3 separate regions of the Homo sapiens genome follow, and all the other regions are linked to region 1. Evidence: promoter capture Hi-C in 16 types of primary human blood cells and fetal thymus (Javierre and others, 2016). All regions are on one chromosome and are shown on one strand. Each heading gives the region's core, a stretch centred on a gene start or on the middle of the fragment in contact. The rest is flanking DNA. Distances are from core to core; before and after follow the strand shown. Region 1 holds the start of SIGLEC12 (sialic acid binding Ig like lectin 12). Region 2 overlaps SIGLEC5 (sialic acid binding Ig like lectin 5). Region 3 overlaps ZNF175 (zinc finger protein 175).

Evidence for each region. Contacts are between HindIII fragments. The CHiCAGO score rates a contact against its expected background, and 5 or more counts as called.
Region 2: a fragment that was not itself captured here is called in contact with the fragment with the promoter of SIGLEC12 in region 1 in 1 of 17 cell types (erythroblasts); the score reaches 6.1 in erythroblasts.
Region 3: a fragment that was not itself captured here is called in contact with the fragment with the promoter of SIGLEC12 in region 1 in 1 of 17 cell types (erythroblasts); the score reaches 6.3 in erythroblasts.

What each region holds. Positions count from the first base shown.
Region 1 is chr19:51,498,910-51,503,810 of GRCh38, forward strand. SIGLEC12 (sialic acid binding Ig like lectin 12) reads right to left here and starts at 2,891. Exons shown (of 8, transcript NM_053003.4): 1 at 2,398-2,891; 2 at 1,011-1,391; 3 at 529-807; 4 at 261-308. The coding sequence starts at 2,824. RefSeq lists an enhancer at 654-1,153. The HindIII fragment of the contact is 28,149 bases long and covers 1-4,901 here.
Region 2 is chr19:51,613,192-51,616,575 of GRCh38, forward strand. All of the region lies in intron 8 of SIGLEC5 (sialic acid binding Ig like lectin 5), which reads right to left. It overlaps LOC124904753 (a long non-coding RNA gene), which reads left to right. Exons shown (of 3, transcript XR_007067313.1): 2 at 638-858; 3 at 2,233-2,525. Among named protein-coding and RNA genes, the nearest start is that of SIGLEC5, 16 kb to the right of the region's middle. RefSeq lists a silencer at 2,476-2,625. The HindIII fragment of the contact is 7,305 bases long and covers 1-3,384 here.
Region 3 is chr19:51,583,514-51,588,414 of GRCh38, forward strand. It overlaps ZNF175 (zinc finger protein 175), which reads left to right. Exons shown (of 5, transcript NM_007147.4): 5 at 3,114-4,901. Among named protein-coding and RNA genes, the nearest start is that of LINC01530, 8.4 kb to the right of the region's middle. RefSeq lists a silencer at 4,179-4,379. The HindIII fragment of the contact is 644 bases long and covers 2,516-3,159 here.

The DNA of each region.
Region 1 (4,901 bases), core at 1,641-4,140:
AAGAGTCCTCAAATCCTTGAGCTGCTGTGTGAATGTCCCTCTACCCTTGCTGTGGGGCCAAAATAGGTGTGTGTGTGGAGGAGTTCAAGGGGAGTGAAGGGGTGATGAGAAGGTGCTCAGGTGGCCAAAAGGCTGAGGCTGAGGGAGGGGGGGGCCGGGGCTCACCCACAAAAGGGTCTCAGGTCACCAGGGTGAGTCCTGGCTCTCCCCTGAGTTGAAGGCTCTGCTCCTCCAGCCCCAGGGAGAGGACTCCATCTTACCTGTGCCATCTCCTTGGAAGACAGTCATGGTCAAGTTCTGAGGAGGATCTGGAACAGAAAGACACGGAGTTCCCATCACTTTGAGGACTGGGGACACTGACCCTGTCTCCCCAGGAGCCCCATAAATGGGGAAGGTGGAGCCAGCATCCTCCTGACCCCCAACTCCCAGCCAAGATTCCAGGACCCAGATCCTTGAGTCTGGGTCCCACATCCAACTGGCCTCAAGGAATCCCGATCAAAGACCCAGACGTCCTGGCCCAGAACTCACAGGATATGTTGAGTCGGACAGCCCTGGTCATGGTCACGCCGGCCCCAGGCAAGGTCACCTGACAGGTGAGGCTGGTGCCATGGTCCTGGGGCTGTGGGATGAGGCTGAGCATCGAGGAGCGAGTGATAGTGGGGTCCAGGGAGGACACGGAGGCCCCCATCCAGGTGATCGTGGGGGGCGTCCCCTGTTCACAGGCCCAGGGCACAGAGCAGGTCAGGTTCCTGGGGTGGCCAGACTCCAGGGTCCCCGGGATGGAGAAGGTGGGCATGTGAGTCAGGGCTGGTGATGAAAGGGAGACAGGCAAAATGAGGGTGTTGGGGTCTGAAGTGTGGTGCTGAGGAGGCTCAGGCTCTGGTCTTACTCCTCCCCTGAGCCAGATATGCTTCACCTCCAACTCCCTCCCAGGATGGGGGTCCCACCTCAGCCCTACCCTGCGGCCCTCGGGCCTTCCCCTCTGGCTGGTCCTAGAGCCAGAGATTTACCTGTCACATGCACAGAGAGCTTGTCATATATGTAGTTCCATTTCCTGCTTCCTCTCTCCACCTGGAAGTAGTACTTCCCTGAATCCCCCTTCCTGGCATCTCTGATGCTCAGGGAGCAGTTGTTGGTCTGTGGGTCCCCAAGGAGGAGGAATCGACCGTGGGTATCCTCTTGCACTTTTCCACTTGGGGTGTTTGTGGCCACTGGAATATCCCATGGTATATCGGCCCCTTCCTTGAACCAGGATCCATAAACAGGGCTAGAGGCAGTCCAGTTGTAATGGGGGTAAAGGACACTGCAGGGCACAGAGACACACAGACCCTCCTGCACAGTCACCGACTCTGGCACCTCCAGCCTGTATCTTGACAGTAGGTCCTGGGACGCTGTGGAGAAACGAGGGTCAGCCCAGCCCCCACTGTCCCTCTCTTCATTTGCCCATAGCAGGGGCAGCAGCATCTCTGAGGCAGAGGCTTCCTGGGCTCCCTGTGTGAGCAGAGAAGGGGGAGGGAGAGGAGGGGCAGGGCTGTGGGACCCACAGGGGGCTGGAGAGGAGCTGGAGACCTCAGCCCTGCATGGAAGAGAAACTGCAAACCCACATGCTATAGGAACTCATTCCCTCTGCACAGAGTGAAGGAAACCCTAAAGCTCAGAGACCCTAGAGACCCACCCAGGGAGGAGAAGAGACCGTGTCCCGCCTCCTACCTCCGGGCTTCCCTGAAGCACCAGGGCCTGCACCAGACACGTAGGTCCTGCCCTCCCGGCCTCTGGACCATCGTGGAGGTCCCTCCTGTCTTTTGAGCATCTAAATGTGGATCTCCGAGGACCTCGGGGCATGAGAGATGGAGGGGCCGTGTGCTGAGTCTCCCTGTCCAGGCTCAGGTGCCTCTGCTGCCCTTGGTTTGCGCCAGGAAGTGCTTCCTCCCTGGCCTGGCCTGAGAGAGTCACGGGGTTGTGTAGACCTAAGGCTCTCAACTGGGGAGGACTTAACCCCCCAGGACGTTTGACAATGTGTGGAGATAATTGTCTCGCTGCATGGGTGGGGTGGGTGCTTCTGGCATCTGGTGGGGAGAGGCCTGGGATGGTGCTAAACCCCGGCCATGCCTAGGACAGGCCCCAAAACAAGGAGTCATAAGGCCCCACATGCCACAGTGCCAGCGTCAGAGGCAGGATGAGGATGTCAGGCCTGTGGGTCAGGGCTGGTGAGGGGAGGGGCTTGCAGGATCAGGAGGGGCATCCAAGGTGCGGTCCTGGGGAAGCTCAGGCTCTGGTCCAGCTCCTCCCCTGAGTCCATCACCCCCGGCCCCCTCCCAGGACATGTGTCCCGTCTCAGCCGTGCCCTAAAGCCCTCATCACATTTGCCTTTGGCCTCTCTTGGAGCCCGTGCCTTACCTGTCACATTCACAGAGAGCTGGTCATATTTATAATTCCATTTCATATTTCCTCTCTCTACACAAAAGACGTATGTCCCTGCATCACTCTCTCTGGTGTCTCTGATGCTCAGGGTACAATCCTTGTTCTGTGGGTCCCCAAGGAGGTGGAATCGGTCCCGAGTCTCCTCCTGCACTGCTCGAGCTGGGTTGTTTGTGGCCACTGGAATGTTCCGGCTTACATGGTCCCCTGCCCGGAACCAGTAGCCATGAACTGGATCGGAGGCAGTCCAGCCATTTTGGGGGTAGGAGAAGGAGCAAAGCACAGAGACACACAGGCCCTCCTGCACCGTCACGGACTTCTGCATTGTCAGCAGGTAATCCTTCTGTTCCTTAGCCCCCACTCTCCCACAGAGCAGGGGTGGCAGCAGTAGCAGCAGCAGTAGCATGTGTCGGGTTGGAGGTGCCAGGGTTGCTGAGGTAAGTCTGTTCCTCAGGGTTCTTCTCTCAGGAACTGAGAACTCAAGATTTCGAGGAAGCCGCACAGGAAGTTGGGGGTGGGTTCTGAACGGTGACCTCACAGGAGGAACTTCACACACAGACACTGTCAGGGCCGGGTCACCCCTGGAAGATCCACCGTCCACTACCCCGTCCACTCCTGGGGACCCTGAGGCCAGAGAGGATGAAAGACTCACCCAGATTCCAACCCCATGCAGGGCCCACCCCGCCCACTGCCTCCCTCTCAGTGCCCTTCCCCTTGGGTGATATTTTCCATAAGGTGAAAATGAGTCCCATGTGGCCAGACCTATGAAGTACAGGCTGTGGATGTCTCTCTGTAGGTCAGAGGTGACACTAGGATATAAGAGATGGGGGTGCAGGTGGGATGAGCAGGCAACCTCTCCTTCCTCCCTCAGCGGCCGTGAGGTGGAGTTCAACACAGCAGAGCTAGACACTGTCCCCAAAGAGTCACTGTGTAGTGGGGAGACACTGAGGCTCCTGATATCTGAGCTCTCCATGGCAGGAGCTTCAGTGGGGGTACCAGGCAGGGTGTGGTCGCTCTCTCCTATGTTGGGGAATCAGTCTCGGGAGGACTGAGCAGAGAGACACGGGGTCGTGGAGGTGAGGATTCCGTGTGTTGATACACACCAAAGACACAGAGAAGAGCCCAGTTCACAGGAGGCCTGAGAAGCTAAGGCTGTGACTGTTGTACAGTGAGGTCTGGAAGGGAGGAATGTTGGATGGGAAGGGACAGATTTCTAAAGGGGCAGGCGTTTCTCTCTCGGCCATGGCTCTCTGGGTTCAGGATGGGATCCTTCACCACTGCTCTCTCACAAGTCCTCCTTACTCCAGAGCATGAGGGGTCTGCTGGCCCTTTGTTCCTGCAGGCTCTGCTCCCAGGGTTTCAGGTGAACAGGAGACGTGGAGCGAGGACACCAGCCCTGGCGTGTCCACGCTCAATGATGGACAGGATTTCATGGGAGAAGAAATGCACCTGAATTCAGCAGAAGAGTTTTTGAAACTGTATGCTATGTACTGGGAGGAAGGTGGGGAAAATCCTGCAAGATTCGCCCTCCTTAGACCCATGTCAGCTTTTCTTGAAACAATGATTTTTGGGGAAATGTAATACAAGTAAATAAAAGTGCCACCTAAAAAAATGACTCAGTGATTTTCACCAAATTATCACTGTTCAAGAAATAGAACATCACAAGATAATTGCCAAATTTCTCCCATGAGATGAAGAAAGAAATTGCATTCATTTATTCAGCCCTGTGTTTCCCCTTCCTATAGGCCACATGCAGTTCCTCCTGAAGATGCCCCAGCCTCACTTTAATGATAATGGTCTCCTTGCTTTTCTATGTAGTTTTATCATCTGAGTGCACTGCCTTCAATACTATGGCTTTGCATAGGTTTTTCTAAAGACTATTTTTACATAAAAACCACAATCTGTTTTATTTTACTCAGCTCCATGGATCTTCCCATCCCCATGTTGTCCCCAATTGCCCATAACCTGGAGTAGAGTCAGTTGGCTGTGATAATTGAAAAGGAAATGTGCAGGATTGGGGCATGCATAGCTGCTCCTCTCCCTGACACCACTAATTCCTGCATTTGCAGCTTGTATCTCATCCTGCAGACCAATCTGCTCCTGGGCCCCCATCCTTGCCGTGTCACTTTCTTCCCGTAAGGACAGTTGCAGCATCTCAATGGGAAGAAGGGCTCGACCACGGCCCATCTCTTTCCCACAGTCCCCAGTTGGCAAAGAAAAGCAGAAAAATGGGAAGGAGAGACATGAGGAAGCCACAGAGAATCTGCAAAGGAAGAACGTTTGAACCACATATGACTCAGAGGAGCTGATGGGCCCTCTAGACCCACTTCCATAATTTGGAGAGGAAGATATTAAGGACCAGAGTGACAAGTGCTACAGCTACATGTCTCTCCTCAAAATTCATTTGTTGACCTTTGAACCCCCATGTGATAGTATTAGAAGGCATGGTGTTTAGATAGGTGGTTTGGATTAGCCTAATAGGA
Region 2 (3,384 bases), core at 12-2,511, 110 kb after region 1:
GAGAGGGGGTCACAGGCTGGGCACTCAGGCAGCAGGTGGTGTGCCAGGATAAAGGAGTATTCTGTGAAAGTCACACTGTGAACATGATGGCCAGATCTCTGGGGTTCCCATTCAAGGCCGGGCTAGATTTTATGACCACTCCCCAAAGAGAGACCTCAACACCAAATAAGAGAAAAATACAACAAATGGTTCCCACAGGGAAGTTGGGCTGATGTGACATTTATCAATTCATCCTTTTATAATCCACTCCTCCTAAGGACAGGCCATAGGCTGCCTAGGTCAGGGTCTATGTCTGATTTCTCACACTGTACGTGCCCAGGAACCGGCACAGGGCAGACAGGGCTGGGTTCAAATCCCGGCCCCACCTGTCCATATACATTTCCTGTGAACTCAACTATTCGCTCATTCTTTCAAAATTTTGTAATACTATGATTGATCAGACCATATTGAGGACTTACTAATCACATTGAATCATCACCAAAAAAAAACCCACAACAGTATAAAAGATATTCTAATTATCCCCACCTTACACACAGGGAAACTGAGGTGGAGAGAGGTTAAGTAGCTTGCCCAGGGTTATTCATCTAATACATGGCGAGGCCAGGATTCGAACTCAGCCCTGTCTCCCCTGTTTCAGGTTCTGGGCACGTACAGTGTGAGAAATCAGACATAGACCCTGACCTAGGCAGGAGGAGCGGATTATTGATGAAGCAAATGTATACCTTCGGCATAGGTTACAAGGTGTCTTATGTGCAAACCAGAAAAGAGATGGCAATTCTGATCCTGGACCCAGTTTCCATGAAAGAGAAACAAAATGGAGCAGATCCTGTCCCCAGCAAAGATGGTAACCAGATACAAGTAAGCAATTTCTTTCCTCTCCCACCTTCACCCATATCCCTACCCATCACGCTATGGAAAATATGTTGAAAGCAACGTGAGTCTTCAAACAGTAGCTCAGAAGTTTTCTTTTTGAGACAGAGTTTCACTCTGTCATCCAGGCTGGAGGGCAGTGGTGTGATTTCGTCTCACTGCAACCTCCCGTCCCTGGCTCAAGCAATCCTCCCACCTCAGCTTCCTGAGTAGCTGAGACCACAGGCACAAGCCACCATGCCCAGCTAATTTTTGTAAAGACAGGGTTTCGCCACGTTACCCAGGTTGGTCTCAAACTCCTGGGCTAAGCGACTGGCCCAGCTTAGCCTTCCAGAGTGGTGGGATTACAGGTGTGAGCCACCACACCTGGCCATACAGTTTTTTTAAAAGGACTCCGCAGTTAGGGAAAAATGGCTTCATTGTGTCAGAAAAAAATAGACTTTCTGGAGAGAGCTGCTTATATTAGGCACAAGAAAGATGAAATAAAATGAAAAAGTGGCTATGCACACCAGCATTATGCAGGCAAAGGAAGAAATAAAGACATATGTCTATCAATAGGTGTGCGGTATATGAAATAAAAAGGGTGAAATTGACAACTGAAAGAAAAGGCACAGCTCAGATTAGTAAATAGGACAATGCAGTATGTTCACCCTTTCACTCAATAGCTCTTTGCTGAGTGCTTTCTTTGGGCTAGATGCCGTTCGTATAAATGAGGACATAAAGCAGACTGAAACCACCCAAATACCTCCCCGTCATGCAGTTCCTTGTTAGACAGAAGGAAAAGTAATACTGGGTAACAGTTATAAGTGAGCTCCCTGTGAGCTTGCCACTTTACTAAGCACTCCTTGTAACAATCCGAGACAGATACTAGCATATTAATAACCCAATTTCTATAGGAGAAAACAAAAAAACAGAGAGGTTCATTAGCTTATCCAAGGTCACACAGCTTGCAAGTGGGTGAATCTAGAACCTGAATGCAGGACGTCAAACTCCAGGGACCATGCTGTGCCTCGCTTTACCATTCTGCCTATGGCATGAAAGTGTGCAGAATGGTTAAAGGTAAAATAAAGGAGAAAACAAAGCTCTCTCTACCATAGTTCTTGTCAAAAGAGTGAATTCATACACCGGCTCTGTTCTCCAAGACCTACCAATGATGGAACTAAAGATGGAGCTCCTGGGTGAACAAAACTTTACAAATCAATTTATGATCAATCAATCACACTGATATCCCTAGGGGAAAGTTAAGGCTCATTTGAAGAAAAGGGGTGGGAGAACTGGGCGGGGGGACAGCTGGCTTGTTGAGAGGATGGGTTAGCCCAAACATACTTGAATTCTGCTCCTTTCTCTCCTCTACCCTTCCAGTGGGACAAACATTGTCTGCCCCTCACTGCAGAATTCAGAGTATGGACAGGATTATGATGTGCCAGTGTCCAACAGGCATGTGTTGGGTAAGCACCAGAGGCCCACTGGGGTGAGGAGAAGGAGAACGGAGGTGGAAGCTCACTGGTCTTTGACATTCTCCTTGCCATTTTCTCCACTCCAAACTCCCAGGGCTGGTGGATCACAATGCAACGAGAGTCCTTGACCAATGTTGCTTCTCCACGAGGGTCTGAAGATGGAGGGATGACTTAAGCTGCCTTACTGGGGTGATAGGAAGTGGGACTGGTTGGGTGTGGTTTGGGTTCTTGAGGGGATCCACCCTGGGGCTTGTCCCAGTCATTTCTCTTTTTTTGAGACGATGCTTCACTGTTGTTGCCCAGGCTGGAGTGCAATGGCATGATCTCGGCTCACTGCAACCTCCACCTCCCAGGTTCAAGAGATTCCCCTGCCTCAGCCTCCCGAGTAGCTGGGATTACAGGCATGTGCCACCACACCTGGCTAATTTTGTATTTTTAGTAGAGACGGAGTTTCTCCATGTTGGTTGGGCTGGCCTCAAACTCCCGACCTCAGGTGATCTGCCCACCTCGGCCTCCCAAAGTGCTGGGATTATAGGCGTGAGCCACCGTGCCCGGCGTCCCTGTCATTTCTTTGGCTCAGTAAGCCTGACACAGGCCAGCATCTGCCCTTCCCTCATTCAAGAAACACTGCCAGAGTAGCCAATAACCCCAGGGGAATGTGAGCTCACAGCTCAGAAGGCTGGGCACCTTTGAAGAAAAGCAAACCAACAGAACCTGATAGACCACTAGAAGCACAAGTACTAGGACGCTTTGGTCAAGAAGCTAAACTGAGCATATTACATGCACTAAAAAGATGTGGCAATATTAGCAGCATGAAAACAAGCATAAGAAACTTTGTCAATAACAAAGTGTGCATGCAAAATGAATGTGAAACATAATAAGGAATTATGTAATTGTGTACTTGATGCAAAAAGGGCCATGTGGAAATATCTGAAAAATATCATAGGAAGAGCCCAATGGATGGGATGGAGAATAGAATGACTATAATTGAGGGCAAATTAGTGAGCTAGAAGGGCCGTCAGAAGTATCCCCTAAAAGGAAGTAGGGAAGGATGAAG
Region 3 (4,901 bases), core at 1,588-4,087, 85 kb after region 1:
AATCCCAGTGGTATTACAACAAACTAGATCCCCATTTTCTCATATTTAGACAATTTTGTTCCCAGTGAGATATGTTGATTTCAGGTTTTTGAGTTTAGTCAAGATACTGACAGATTTTATGACCCCAAACATGGCTATTTTGTTTCTTTTTTCCTCAGTAGATATGATAAAAACAGGCAGTTCTATTTCCTACTGTGTAGGATTAACAAATTCTTTTCAGTGATATTGTCCTCATGGCCACATATTTCCAATTTAAAAATATACCTGAATAGTTTTCATCACTCATGCTCTGCTCCATTGTTTTTGTATGTTGTTTAATGTCTACTCCATAGAATGATTCACTTTGCATACACTCTGCTGATTACTTTGTACTTTCTTAATCTTCATTATATCAATGTTTAGCATGAGGAAACCATTGTATTTAAGATATAGGATTAGGATTTTTGTATTTAGGATACAGAAATTACTGATTTTCTGAAAATGGGCAGAAAAGAATATTTCACAGTATTTTAAAAGGATGCTTTAAATATTTGCTGAGATAAATTCAAAAGAACGGAGATTGTATTTGGATGGAGAGGACAATGGCATTAAATGTTAAAAGTATTAGCCTTTGTGCATCAATCATGTCTATTTCATGGAAGGCTACTCAAAAAGTAAGTGTATCAACATGGGAAGCATGGATAGCAAATGCTGGTGAAGTTCAGAAAAATGATGTCAGCCTAGAGGTGGAGTGACATTGGGAATTAATTTTAAGGGCATAGTACCTATAACTGGTTCAAGAAGCCATTTTGAATTGAAACAAAGAAGCAGATGAAGCAAGCTTAATGGGAATAGAGGACATGAGAGTGTGCTTGGATTTGAGAATAAATTGGACTTCTTTTTTGCAATCGACATTGTTAGGCTGTGTTGGAGAGTTGTGGAAAAGCTTTTCAGTACAGTTCTGATAGTTTACATTGAACATTTTGGGCAGTAATTTAAGTGTTACCAGGTTCAGCAAGATTTTTATGACCTGAATAAAGTGAGAAGTTAAAAATGTTTCAGATCGCTGCCTGGGGACACAGTGGAAGATTGCCAGAATAAATGACCACCTGTATATGGGTAAAATTGCTATTTAAGAGTGAAAAATGAAATAGAAAACAACCTATTTTAATAAGTGGGAAAAGGATGTGAATAGACATGTCTTCAAAGATGATATACAAGTGGCCAATAATAGGAAAAAATGCTCAACTTCACTAATTATGTGGGAAATGCAAATCAAAACCACTGGGTGATATCCCTTTACATCCATTAGAATGGCTACAATTAAAAAAACAGAATAACAAGTGTTGGCAAGGATATAGAGAAACTGGAATCCTTGTGTATTACTAGTGGGAATGTAAAATGGTGTAGTCCTATGGAAAACAGGATGATGATTTCTCAAAAATTAAACATAAAATTACCATATGATCCAGCAACTCCACTTCTGGGTAGATACCCACAAGAATTGAAAGCAAGGACCCAAACAGCTGTTTGTACACTCTTGTTCATAGCAGCACTATTCACAATATCCAAAAAGTGGAATTGTCCATTGACCAATGAATTGGTAAACAAAATGTGGTCTATACATACAATGAAATATTATTCAGCCTTAAAAAGGAAGAGGAATTATGAAACATGTTGCAGTGCGGATGAATCTTATCATGATGCTAAGTGAATAAGCCAGACACAAAAAATCCAAATGTATCATTCTACCTGTATGAGGTACTTTAAGTAGTCAATTCATAGAGACAGAATAAGATTGTGGCTGCCAGAGAATGAGGGATGGGGGAAAAGGGAAATTGTTTAATGGATACAGCATTTCAGTTTTGCAAGATGTAAAAGTTTTGGAGATCCATTGCACAACAGGGTGAATACAGGTAGCACTACTGAACTGTACAATACAAAATGGGCAAGATGGTAAATGTAATATTATGCACTTTTGCTACAATAAGAAAAAGTTAACAATAAAGATTAAAAGTGTCCTTTTTTTAAAAAAAGAATGAAAGATGATTGAGTTTTTTTGATAGGACAAGAGTCTGGGATACAGTTTAAGTGACTGAAAGCGAAAAGAAACTACATGTGATGTTCATACTCAGTATTAAAATCTGGTAGAAAAAGTAATAGTAAAATTTAGTAACTATTATTTTTATTGAGAACCTGCTGTGTTTTGTGCAGTATACTAGTAAAGTGCACAGGATGATCAGGGACTCTTATTCTTGGCAAAAAAACAAAACAAAACAAAAAACTAAACTAAAAAAGGCATATTTGATAGCATAAAGCCAAAAGTTCTAACAAAGAACAATTAATTTCAATGGAACAAGGGTGAAACAAATTCTGGGGAACAGCTTGCTTGTCCAGTCTTTTAGAATATATTTCTGGGGATATGGGTATATTCCTAAGTTCAAGAAAAAAAAATTGTAGCTTCATGGAGAGTTGAGGCATAGGAGAGTTGAGGCATAGTCATTCTTTCACTGGTTGGCCATGTCAAGATAGGTGAAGCTTTAATAGTTTTCAGAAGGATATACAGGGCTGATGGACTTGGCATTGTTTCTAACAAGTAAGATAAAGCAGGCAGATTGGTGAGGATTCATCTCTGAAAGTTAATGAAGACCTACACACTGAGCCCCCTCCTTCAAGCCTTGGCTGCCCACACATGTTGCCCTGCAACACTTGTCTGTTTTATCCTACTCATCCTACTAGATCTGGGTGTCTAGACCACTTGCATAAGTGTCCTCAGGTTGTTGAAATCTAATCCCCACAGATTAGCAAAGTGATCTTGGCCAATTACATAACCATTATGTGCTTCCTTTTCTTTGTAAAACAGGAACACCCATCATCGCTACCTCCTGAGGTTATTATGCAGATTAAATGAGTATGTGTGCACCATGTAGGCCACTGCCTGGCACATGCTAAGTGCTATGTAGATAAATGCTCATCATGTAATAAGGGCTCTGTGTTTCTGCTCATTGTCAGCATCATTAGCAGCATTATTACATGACTCAGCAATTTCCTTGTGTTCTGTGTCAATCAGCTTCATGCAGTTTCTCCTCTTTCTTGTTCATTGTGTCTATTTCATCTTCTCTTTCTCCTTTTAGAAAGGGAGTTTGGGCTTGAAATCCCACAAAAGGAGATTTCTAAGAAAGCTTCATTTCAAAAGGATATGGTAGGTGAGTTCACAAGAGATGGTTCATGGTGTTCCATTTTAGAAGAACTGAGGCTGGATGCTGACCGCACAAAGAAAGATGAGCAAAATCAAATTCAACCCATGAGTCACAGTGCTTTCTTCAACAAGAAAACATTGAACACAGAAAGCAATTGTGAATATAAGGACCCTGGGAAAATGATTCGCACGAGGCCCCACCTTGCTTCTTCACAGAAACAACCTCAGAAATGTTGCTTATTTACAGAAAGTTTGAAGCTGAACCTAGAAGTGAACGGTCAGAATGAAAGCAATGACACAGAACAGCTTGATGACGTTGTTGGGTCTGGTCAGCTATTCAGCCATAGCTCTTCTGATGCCTGCAGCAAGAATATTCATACAGGAGAGACATTTTGCAAAGGTAACCAGTGTAGAAAAGTCTGTGGCCATAAACAGTCACTCAAGCAACATCAAATTCATACTCAGAAGAAACCAGATGGATGTTCTGAATGTGGGGGGAGCTTCACCCAGAAGTCACACCTCTTTGCCCAACAGAGAATTCATAGTGTAGGAAACCTCCATGAATGTGGCAAATGTGGAAAAGCCTTCATGCCACAACTAAAACTCAGTGTATATCTGACAGATCATACAGGTGATATACCCTGTATATGCAAGGAATGTGGGAAGGTCTTTATTCAGAGATCAGAATTGCTTACGCACCAGAAAACACACACTAGAAAGAAGCCCTATAAATGCCATGACTGTGGAAAAGCCTTTTTCCAGATGTTATCTCTCTTCAGACATCAGAGAACTCACAGTAGAGAAAAACTCTATGAATGCAGTGAATGTGGCAAAGGCTTCTCCCAAAACTCAACCCTCATTATACATCAGAAAATTCATACTGGTGAGAGACAGTATGCATGCAGTGAATGTGGGAAAGCCTTTACCCAGAAGTCAACACTCAGCTTGCACCAGAGAATCCACTCAGGGCAGAAGTCCTATGTGTGTATCGAATGCGGGCAGGCCTTCATCCAGAAGGCACACCTGATTGTCCATCAAAGAAGCCACACAGGAGAAAAACCTTATCAGTGCCACAACTGTGGGAAATCCTTCATTTCCAAGTCACAGCTTGATATACATCATCGAATTCATACAGGGGAGAAACCTTATGAATGCAGTGACTGTGGAAAAACCTTCACCCAAAAGTCACACCTGAATATACACCAGAAAATTCATACTGGAGAAAGACACCATGTATGCAGTGAATGCGGGAAAGCCTTCAACCAGAAGTCAATACTCAGCATGCATCAGAGAATTCACACCGGAGAGAAGCCTTACAAATGCAGTGAATGTGGGAAAGCCTTCACTTCTAAGTCTCAATTCAAAGAGCATCAGCGAATTCACACGGGTGAGAAACCCTATGTGTGCACTGAATGTGGGAAGGCCTTCAACGGCAGGTCAAATTTCCATAAACATCAAATAACTCACACTAGAGAGAGGCCTTTTGTCTGTTACAAATGTGGGAAGGCTTTTGTCCAGAAATCAGAGTTGATTACCCATCAAAGAACTCACATGGGAGAGAAACCCTATGAATGCCTTGACTGTGGGAAATCGTTCAGTAAGAAACCACAACTCAAGGTGCATCAGCGAATTCACACGGGAGAAAGACCTTATGTGTGTTCTGAATGTGGAAAGGCCTTCAACAACAGGTCAAACTTCAATAAACACCAAACAACTCATACCA